Linked DNA regions of Homo sapiens: region 2 is linked to region 1. Evidence: promoter capture Hi-C in 16 types of primary human blood cells and fetal thymus (Javierre and others, 2016). All regions are on one chromosome and are shown on one strand. Each heading gives the region's core, a stretch centred on a gene start or on the middle of the fragment in contact. The rest is flanking DNA. Distances are from core to core; before and after follow the strand shown. Region 1 holds the start of ZNF496 (zinc finger protein 496). Region 2 overlaps ADSS2 (adenylosuccinate synthase 2).

Region 1 (5,588 bases), core at 3,055-5,554:
CTGCAGGGCAGGCTGCAGATCCAGAAAGCCGAAGCTGCAGCAAGTCGGAAGGCGCGCCGCAGGGGGAGTTCCTTCCTCAGGAGACTGCAGTCTTTGCTCTTACGGCCTTCGACAGATTGGATGAAGCCCGCCCACGCTATGGAGGGTAACCCGCTGCATTCAAAGTCTACAGATTTAACTATTAATCATATCTAAAAAACAGCCTCACAGAAACACCAGACTGGTGTTTGAACAAAAACTGAGTACCACAGCTAGCCAAGTTGCCTCATAAAATAAAACGTCACACTTGCTCCTTATTTTACTGGAGTGTTGGCAAAGTTGGAAGAAGCCTGCCCCAGGCTCTCCCTGCCCAGATGCTGTGGACATGCCTCAGGTCCAGAGGCAGCCTTCCCTGCCCTCCGGCTCCCCGTGGGCCCTGGGTGCCAGCCCTCCCTCCTCCAGGCGATGCACTGCAATTTCTCCCATCTTTAAGATGAGACCGTTTTTCTCCACAGGGCTGTGTCCACTCTCATCTCCCTTCTCTTCCAGAAAGTGCCCTAGCCCAGGAGCTCCACTGTCTGCTTTGCTCAGGGGCCTCTCTACCAGATTCAATGGGCAGTGTTCTTTCCTCATCGGATTTGATCTTGGCGCAGGATTTATCCCCCTGACCTCTTTCTCTCCTTGAAACACAGGTGCTCACTTGGATTCCAGGGCTCCACACCTGCAATTTTCCTTTTATCTCAAGGCGGCAGCAGCTCTCCCTACCCCCTTCTCTTGCCCTCGTCCTCCCTCACTTTCCTCCTCCTACTTCCCCTTCTCTCCCTTCTCCTCCACTAACCCCTTGGGCTCCCACGGTCCAGGGCTGGCATTTCGCAGGGTCTGCCCTCCCTGGGGCTGCTTCTCAAAACACACTCAACCCTCTCAAGCCCCAGCTCCTGCTACATACGGTGACTCCAGATTTCCACCTCCAGCCACAGCTTTCTATCCCAGAGGGTCATCCCCACTTGTCTCCTGGGCATCTGAAAACCAGCAAGTCCCAAATCCACCAATTCAACCCCAAACCCAACCCCTTCCTGGAAACCTGCTTCCTTGCATCTGCCATCTCTAGAAGGCCTGTTCAGTCACCCAGTTTCAGCCCCAGTCACAGCCGTTCCTCACTCCTCTAACACAGGCAGCATGCCTTCAACACAGAGCCTGGATTGGGCCTACTGTTCACCAGCTGTGCCTCCACCAGTCAACTCCAGGAACCGAGCATCTCCTGCCGGGATCTCTACAACGATTCCTAACAGAGACTCTGCTTCATCTGTTCTGCACAGTGATCTTGATAAAATCAAGATTCCGTTAGGCCACACTCCTACTTGAAACCCTCTAATGACTATAACATCTGGTGACCTGGTTCCAGCCTCACCATTCTCTCACTATTCCTCTGCCCAGCTGAGCAAGCACACGCTGTTTCCTCTGCTGGAATACTCTTCCCACACACCTCTGCTCAGGAGCCCCCCACCTGCTCTCCACTCAAATGTCACCTCCTGACAGAGGCCCTACCTGAACATCCCCAGCACACTCTTCCCCACCATGTTGTATTTCTTTCATGACACCGATCACCAATGGCGTTATATTGCAGAATCGCTGATTTATTATTTGATTCCCCTCCCAACTCCTTGGATCATTCTTCTATGGTCTCCCCATGGATCGAATAATCATTGGCACATAGCAAACATTTCATAAAAACAGATACAATTGGCAACATTATATTCATACAAACCTAATACACGCACACACTGGGCATGATGATGGTGCAGTCCTTGAGCAGGGTTTACAGGCAGGATCCTCTTCCCGATGCTTCACCCGTGGTATCTGATACAACCCCACTTCATTCAGAGGCGAACACCTTCCCCACGGGCTCCTGTGCCCCCACCCAGCTCTATGCCATCCCTCTCCTCTCACTCACCAGCCCACCTTGCTTCGCACCGCTCCCCCTTAGGGCCTTTGCTGTCAAGGTGGTCTCCATGTGTCAAACAGGGACTCTGACCAACTACTTCATCTCAAATACCACCTTCACAGTAAGGCCTGCCTGCCCTCCTCTTTAATACCATGACTGTTACCAGCCCCTCCCCAGCACTCCTGACTTCCTGATGCCTCTCCACTTTCCTTTTTTTCTGTAGCACAGATCAAAGAGAGCAGGTCATGTTACTGATTTTGCTTCCTCCAATAGCCAGTTGTGTTCACAGATGTACCTGAGCACCTGGAAGGCTGGCTGCCTAGCACTCATGAGTGTACAGTAGGTACTCGGTATAGGTTTGCTGAATGACTGAATCTTTGATCCTGCACAACCATCCAATGAGGTAGACAGCATCATCCCTGTTTTCTGGATGAGGAAGTTGAGGTACAGAAAGGTTATGTAGGCCTGAGGTCACCTGGCTAGGAATTCATAGGGCAGGATTTAATCCGGGTGCCTGAGTCCAGAACCTTGACTCTGAAGCCCTGTTTTGAGCTAAATGCAGCAGCAGCATAAACAGCCCGTTTTGTGCCTCAAAAGGTGAACAGTGGGAGGCACAGCTGGGCAGGGACGTGTCAGGTCAGGGGAAGAAACTGAATTGGGTAGTGGGGATTAATTGGATGCTGTCTGCCAGCAATTTCTGCCTCCTGCATTTTATCTGCTTTAGGGTTGCAAGGGGCAGAGCTATGAACACGGATGCCCACTCAACAGCCAGTTCCTGGGCCAATCAAAGGGTTGGGAGCTGTAGCACCAGAGCTCTGGAACCCCACAGACTAGGATGTTTGCTAGAGCACCTAAGCCCTACCAGCCTTTGATGACCCCTCGGTTCCTCCCAATTCCTCTCCTCCATGTCACGGTTCCTGGCTGGTGTTCCTGAGAGTGGGCTGTACATGAGTTCTGTAAATGCCAGTCCAGTTACGTCAAAGGGGGTGGCTCTCACTTGTACCTGTAGGCTCCAGCTAAGATCTGCGTGGCCCTGCCCGGCATCTGGCTGTCATCCGGGAAACAATCACTGTTCACAAACAAGGGCTTCACTCCTTCGCTCGCTCCATCTCCTGCTAAAGTCAGAATGTGAACACTGACAAACAGCGGCTCCCAGTAACTCTGCTAGTCAGAAGTGATTATTCCAGCAGTTCAGAGGAGGAAGTGGCGGTGCCCAGGGCCACGGGATTAGAAGAGCAACGGAGCTAAAGGATCCCGTGCCTCAGTCCAACCACCTTGTTCCCACTTACTCAGCCGGGCCACTTTCTTTGGAGAAACTGATTTCCTTCTGCTTGCCCTTGAAAGGGGATCCGAAGGAAATCGGAGCTACCGGCAGTAGCTACCCTCCGGAAGACGGAGAATCTTCTCCACCTTCTCCTCTGCGTAGGAGAATCCAATTTCGGTGCAGAGCAGATGGCGAAGGGGCCATGGGAATCAGACCTGCTCAGGGACCGGGTTCGCACTTTCTCTCAAGCTCTGGAGCCTGAAAAATGAGCATTCCCCGGGGACGACCCATGTAAGAATTTGGGCTATATTCAGCATAGTGCAGCGGCCAGCAGCCCTGTCTCGGGGTGGGGTCCGGAGGCCCCCATTTCTGCTTGCCCCTCACTGCCACATAACCTTGGGTCAGAGTCCCTCATCCTCTCCCTCCGCCACTGTGCACAGCTGCAACCGTGTTCACTTCAGCGAGCAACGAGCCCCGTGACCCCCACTCAGGGTCAGGACTCACCGCAGCCCCTCTGCGCAAGCCCCGAGGCTCTGCGTGGCCTCCGGATGCGCGGCCTTTCCTAACCCGGGGACTCCGCACGTGGGCGCCAGGCCCGGAAGGCGCGGATGTGAGCGCTACCTTCGGCGTCCCGCAGCGGCAGGAGGGGCTGGGCGGCCCGGGCTTCGGCTGGCGGCGGGGGGGGGGTCGCAGGGGAGTCTGAAATGAGGCGGCCGACGGCGCGCGGGGCCTCCTCTCTCCGCTCCATCCCGCACCCCCAATTCCAGCTTCCATCCCCAGCCGCGACTCCCGGTCGGCCGTTCCGGGCGTCCACTGGCCGCGTGTCCTGGGGGCGCCAGAGAAGGAGAACAGCGGAGAAAAGAGCCCCGGGCCGACCTTCCGGACCGGCGGGCCCGCGGGGAAGCCCGGGCGCGGCGACGTGGCTGACCCACAAAGCCCCCGGCCCGGCGGCCAGGCCCAGGCGCGCGCGGAGCGGGGCGGGCCGGGGGTGTCGGATGTCACCCCCAGCGCACACCTCGGCCGGGGGGCGGGGGAGCGAACCACTGAGATGCGGAGACCTCCCCAGTCCTAGAGCGGAGCAGGAAGTGTCCCAGGGGAGGGAGCCGGAGGGCTCCGGCCTTTCCTTTCCTCGGCGTCCGGCGGGCTCCCGCGGCGGCCAGGCCTGCGCCGCCCGCCAACAGGGACGCGCCGCGGCGGTGAGTGCACCCCGGCTCCCGCGGCCGGCCCCGCCCCGCCCTCCTCGGCCCGCGCCCGGCCTCCGCGGCGCCGCCTCCCAGCCCAGAGCCCAGCGCTCAGGAAGGTGCGGGCGGGGGAGAAAGCAACACCATTGTTTTTCAGGCGCCTCCATTTGCCCCCGAGCCGAGCCGTGGCTTTCCGGATGATCGGGAGACGCGGTCTGGACGGGCCGGGAAAGGAGCCGGGCGCCTGCGGAGACCCCGCCTCAGCGAGTACGCCCGGCCGGGCGGGCTGGGAGGATGAGGACGGCTGCCCTGGACTTCCGCCGCCACAGGAGGGTTTTCGGCCGGACGCCGGGAGGGAGCTCCAGGCTGTGAGGTGAGGAGCCCGGAGCCGGCGAGACGGGAGACGCGCGTGTGAGGGAGACCGAGGGCGCGGAGGGCGGGCTCCCCCTTCCCTGGCCCACAGCGACCTTCTCCTTCCCTTTCTGCCGATCCAGCTCGGTCCCTCCTCCGCGAAAGGCTGGGAGCTCGCTCCGCCCCTGCGGGGCCCTCCTCCGCCTCACTCACGTTAGTTCATTCATCAGGCATCTCCTCCGAGCCTCCGACGCGCCAGGTGCCGCCGTGACAAAGACGGACGCGGCCGTCTGGTTGGAGACGATCCGAGTGGCAGCCCGGGTGGGCGCCGGTGCTCGGGGGGGCGGGCCTGAGTAGTCCTGGGCGCTGCAGGTGTGTGATGGGCGCCGCAGGGGGCCGCCGAGCAGGGCGGGCGGGGCCCACCCCGGGCTCCAGATGCCGGAGCCGCCCTGGAAGCGATCCGGTGGTGGGGAGCGCTGTAATGCGTCCAGCCCGACGCCGCCACGGCCCCCATATGGGTTTCTGTGTATGTTGTTACTTTGGAAAGCAAAGAGATTCAGAGCAGTGGGTGTTTCTGGAACCACTCAGTTGTTCCGTAGCTTTTCTGGCATCACTTGTCTTTCTGTGAAATGGGAGTGAGGCCCGAGTCCCCCTTCCCACCTTGTGAGCTGTTGGAGGTTAAGACGCGGCCACGCTGGACAACCTCGTGCAGATGGGGGAGTGGCAGGCACTGCCGGTCCTAAGGATCACAGAGGCCTGATGGCAGAGAAGGGGACTGTGAGTGTCCCCATGTGCCCTTTCACGGGCCCAGCGTTCTAAAGTGGGAATCATAAACACCAGGTATACTGGTTGCTGGTCTCTTGCCACCCTA
Region 2 (5,327 bases), core at 1,818-4,317, 2.9 Mb after region 1:
TTTTAAGGATAGTAGGTAATTAGCATTTAAGGTAAGCCATTCTTCCAGGTTTATAACAATTGCTATTTCCATTTTTCTGATTCTTTTTATATCATTTATAGCATTTCCCTAGTATATAAGTATTTACCAATGTCTGTTATACTATACTTGGTTAAATCTTGTTCTGTTTGGTTACTGTGCTTTCTCTACTATAATGTAAATTTTCTCAAAAGGGAGACTTCTTCCTTTTCTTATTCTGTAGCACCTAATACTATATGAAGCAGAAGGGAAATACTCAACCAATGTATTCTGGGTGGCAAGATCACCCCTGGAAATTTATTTGAAATAAATAATAGTAACCCTTTCTTGTAATTGTTTTAACATCTCTCTGGACAATTTAATTGACTGGTGGCATACATTTAAGGCGGAATTCCTAGCATTCCTTGGATTAACATTTGTTATTTAGTTTTTCAGCTGGAATTTTTTACATTGTACCATTCAAAGTCTTTGTTTATATTAAAATCTTATCTCTTGTTTTTAGGAGAAAATAGGTAACTGATATTTATATCTTTTTCATGTATCTCCTCAACATATTTCGACTGAATACCATGTGGGGTTCTAGTAACTAGTTATTCCCCGCTGAGGACAGTAAATCTCAATGTTCGGTCAATGAGGATGTCCTATTGCAGTTAGTAAATATAGTATCCTGTCAGCTCTACTTTTGAGGCATGAGTTTTTAAACGTGTATGAGACCATCTCAGTGGTGTCTGATCAAAATTATTCTGTTTCTTTAACTTTGGTGGGAATGGATGGGTTTGTTGGATGTTTACAAGTATCTCTAAGAAAAACTGTTGCCTAGAGCAAATCTAGAATGAACCAATAAATTGATATTTACTTAATAGCTTTCTTTCTGTAACTGGATACGAATCCAGCTATCTTATCTCTCAGGGACTGTGTCAGATGTTGACACCAAAGATTAGTGTGGATGAGCTACATATTGATAAATTAAAATTGGTGACTATTGTAATACTTTTAGCAACAGAAACATCAACATTCAGTATTGCCTGCTGAAAGCAATGAAAAGAACAATAAATGAAGGGGAGTTCCTGTGGCTAATCTGGCTCTGGGATGGGATAGTTCTTTACATTGAACCAAAATTTATATTTGATTCATATAACAAAATTCTTTTTTGAAAAGAGGCTCCATGAGATTTCTAAAAATGAGATTTTTGTCTATATTAAGTTTTAACATCTTTTTTAAAGGAAGAATTTTATTATTGAGAAAACTTTTTTGACTTGAAATCTGTAGTTTAATTTCAATGTGTTTTTAAGAAAATATTTTCATGAATTTAATTAGGTGAATTTTTATCAAACATTTACAAAGAGCTGTGTGACATCGTTGGTTTATACATTTTTGGTTGGATGTCTTATGGCCTCATCTATGACCCTGGTTTGGTGAGTGTGAAAGAATATTAGAGTTTGGTACCCAGAGTCTAAAGCTTCTTAGGAACCTAAGATTCTCTCAGGCAAGGCCCCTTTCCACTTTCATTGTGAGAAGTTATTTCATAATAGTAATGTTAGGTCTAAAATATAAGGTATCTGAGGTTTTCATCATTTGTGACATTTATGTGTGTATGAAACTAGAAGGTAACTATAATCATGCAAAGTAAAGTGGATACCTTTAAACCTTTAATGGATAACTGAGCTGGGATATCTTTGCTAGAAAGAAATTCAGATACCCTGTGTATTTTTTTCTCTTGCTGTCTAGTGTGTCTGGTTACTGCTACATAGTTAAATTTGATCAACTTGCTGGTAGTAACTTAACCTGCTCTACTTTGGAATCATAAGCTAATTGCAGTTATGTGAATGCTTTCATGAAAGAACAATCATCATTTATAACTGCTTTATTGCTGTGGATTGATAAGTGCTTTAGTTTTGGTGAATGGTAACATGTTTCATCTGGAAAGGAGGAGACACAGATCTTACAATCTTTACCCTGAAAGCAGCATAGATAATAAGCATTGACTCCAAAGATTTTTAGGCTCTTAAGAAGTTTGAAGATTAGACAAAAAAATAGCAACCCTTTTTTGGTTGCTGAAATAGTTCAGGGGCATGGGATCTGAGACACTGCTGCTCTCTCCTGTAATCCATAGTGGCCACTGACTTCCTGATGTTCATTTTGAGCTCTGTGATTACAGTAGGTTGTTCATATATTCAAAGCAAAAGGACAAAGATAAGACACAGAGGCCTAACTAGCCTGAAAAATGCCTCTGGGCTTTGTGCATGAAATTGGTAGCCCTTGACACTTGGGCCTGTATTCTGGAAAAGAGACCATTGTTTCAGGTTTACAACACTGAGGATCATTCACTGCCTTCATCTCTCTACCACAGCAGAAATGCACTTGGGGGAGCGAAGAAAGGAGTGATTTAGGGAAGGAGAAGGCCCAGTAGTGAAACCAAGTTAAGAATCAAGAGTCACTTTTGTAAACTAATATCATTTAATTCCTTTCCAAACTTTTTTTTTTTTTAACCTCCCCTGGACCTTTGGAGCTTCTTAGCTAGAAGCTTACACATATTAGCATTTCCTGATCCAAAATTTTATTCTATAATTGGATTTGACAGCCTCTGGTTCTGAGGAGTCATGGAAAGAAAATTCAAAACACTTGTCTTCCGACTTCCTTAAACTAAACATCAAATTAGGAAGAAAAGGAATGCATGGAAAAACTGAGAACAGTTACAGAATAACTAAATACTATTATATCATTCCTCTATCCTGCAGTAATGCTTTAAAGTATTGTCCTTGACAGCATAAAATGTTATTAATATCTAGCAATCATTTTAATATTCAGTTTCACTAGTACAAGATGTAAATTCAGCAAGGTGTATATTATGTTGTAGTAAGTTTTTTTTGTGAATCATTTGTGTTCTTTGTTTGCAAGCAATGGAAAGAAACTATCTCAAGCAAAATGGGGATTTGTTTAAAGGAAGAGCAGGATGGTGGCCTGAGATGAAGCCTGCTCCTGGAATTTCAGCAGCTAGAACTGGCAACCTTTTTCTTTAGGATGCTTCCCGTAGGTGACAGGCATCTCAGACTGCTATTGCTTTCCTTCTCAGTACTCAAATTCAGATTCCCAAGGGAGAGGAGCTGACTGGCTCAGGTTGGAACATGTTTCCCTGCCTGGATCAGTTTGCTGTGGCTGGGGGGATGATTCCTATGATTTGCAAAGTAGGGGAAAAGGAGGGGGACTGAGCATACAAAAGCTATAACTAACCTGGAGTTAATTTTGTATAGGAAAATAAGGTATGAGGAAGCATTTGTTCTGGATTGTTCTCATTTATAAATTGTTTTCCAAAACTCTAATGTGCTATTGACCTGTAGTGCTTTTCTGGAACAAAAAATAGAGTTAAATTGGTTTTTATTATTTTAACCTTAATTAAAATAATGAAAATTAGCTATGTATTGATGGTAAAAACTAAAAGCATACATCAGAAACTTTGCTTTTCAGCTTTGAGAACATAGAATTTTAGTCCTGCTTTTTGTTTCTATCATGATGTTCCAGTTTATTTCATAGCTCTGTGATGAGATACATTTTTTCCTGGTAATTAAGAAGCTTATTTAATATTTTCTTTGTATTTCATCTTTTTTTTTTTTTTTTTTTTTTGAGATGGAGTCTCGCTCTGTCGCCCAGGCTGGAGTGCAGTGGCGGGATCTCGGCTCACTGCAAGCTCCGCCTCCCGGGTTCACGCCATTCTCCTGCCTCAGCCTCCCAAGTAGCTGGGACTACAGGCGCCCGCCACTACGCCCGGCTAATTTTTTGTATTTTTAGTAGAGACGGGGTTTCACCGTTTTAGCCGGGATGGTCTCGATCTCCTGACCTCGTGATCCGCCCGCCTCGGCCTCCCAAAGTGCTGGGATTACAGGCGTGAGCCACCGCGCCCGGCCTGTATTTCATCTTAATGTAAGAATAACAGTCAAAGAAAATTGGTAAAATATATACTATATTAGGGGATGTTTTGTGACTGCAATTGAATTTTCTTTCATATATTGTTCACTTTAATAAAATTAACCTGCATTTATTCTTGGTATTTAATATAAGAAGAACATCATATAAGGCATTATAAGCTTATGCTTTTCCTCAAAGAAACCTGCCACGTAGCTACTTGTGGACTCATGCTGTTTTTTGTTTCTTGGGGTGTTGGTGGGGGGTAGGGTATATTTCAGAAGTAAAATGGTTTAAAAATTGGCCTCAACCTGAAAGCCTGCCATGCAGTGTTGTGGCACTGATGGAAGTGTGAATGAGAAGGCGGTGTCAGCACGTGGCTGGAGAGCCGCTCCGCCACTCTGCCACTCCGCCTCCCTGCCACGTGGCTTGTGAGGAGCCACTAAACCTTTCCGTGCCTAGGCCTCCCCATCTGTGGAATAGTCAGTACCACCTACTTCATAGGGGTGTTGTGCGGACTGAAAAAAACAATGTCAAATGTTTTTAATATTCAGATGCAAGGATGATGTCTGAAATCTGTACTGTATAAAGGCTACACAAAAATGGACAGACATTTGGTTGACTGTGCCAGATACCAAAAATGTACGTTCAGAAAAGCATTTTACCAACTCAGAAATATGACTTATTTCTAGGAAAAACAAAGTTCAAAAAATTATCTCTGAGATTTATTACTAAATGTTTTCCCTGTTGGATATAATTGATCCAGAAACAACGTTGAGATTCCACAGCCCTTTGTTTATATAACTATTAATTGAACATATTCTATTTTTTTGTTAAGTAATATAGAATATACAGCTATGATAATGAAAAGTATTTGTTAAATGCTACAAGAGTGACTGGGATCATAAGTGTTACGGGAGTTTGGCAAAGAAGCAGGAGGTAGTTAGTGTAACTGTTAATGTGATTATAAGACTAATACATTTGTGGGAGATAACTTACCAAGTTTGGTTTGTGGAAAATTTGGATTGAGAAGGAAATTGTATGTTTCCGTTAGAAGTAGAACAACAACAACAAAATATCTCCCATCATTTGTTTGGTACTATCTGGCCTCCCCAGTGCTGCTTGGGAGAATCATGAAACATGATGAATCAAACACATCCTTGCTGTTGCTCATCCTGGCACATATTACACAGAGTTGCCCATGGGCCCATGTAGGAGCAGCTCCATCTGCCCTTCTAATACATAGGTGGGAGACTGAGGGGGTGCTCGTATTTGAAACTGTTTTTGGTTATGGTGCTCATATTTGAAATGCTTTGTTTTACTGTCTGCTAATATGTGACCTCTCCTTGAACCAGTATAATCTCTGTTTGAGGACAATTGCCTGAGCTCCCAAGGTGAATTTTGCCTAT

The links. Contacts are between HindIII fragments. The CHiCAGO score rates a contact against its expected background, and 5 or more counts as called.
Region 2: a fragment that was not itself captured here is called in contact with the fragment with the promoter of ZNF496 in region 1 in 1 of 17 cell types (fetal thymus); the score reaches 6.2 in fetal thymus.

Annotation. Positions count from the first base shown.
Region 1 is chr1:247,330,583-247,336,170 of GRCh38, reverse strand. It overlaps ZNF496 (zinc finger protein 496), which reads left to right and starts at 4,304. Exons shown (of 10, transcript NM_032752.3): 1 at 4,304-4,381; 2 at 4,524-4,739. It overlaps ZNF496-DT (ZNF496 divergent transcript), which reads right to left and starts at 4,117. Exons shown (of 3, transcript NR_168399.1): 1 at 2,925-4,117. LOC124904574 (a long non-coding RNA gene) reads left to right here. Exons shown (of 2, transcript XR_007067004.1): 2 at 7-296. RefSeq lists enhancers at 1-358, 4,130-4,424 and silencers at 2,330-2,624, 3,737-4,216, 4,347-4,456, 5,027-5,266. The HindIII fragment of the contact is 9,597 bases long and covers 1-5,588 here.
Region 2 is chr1:244,442,827-244,448,153 of GRCh38, reverse strand. All of the region lies in intron 1 of ADSS2 (adenylosuccinate synthase 2), which reads left to right. Among named protein-coding and RNA genes, the nearest start is that of ADSS2, 6.4 kb to the left of the region's middle. The HindIII fragment of the contact is 1,046 bases long and covers 2,545-3,590 here.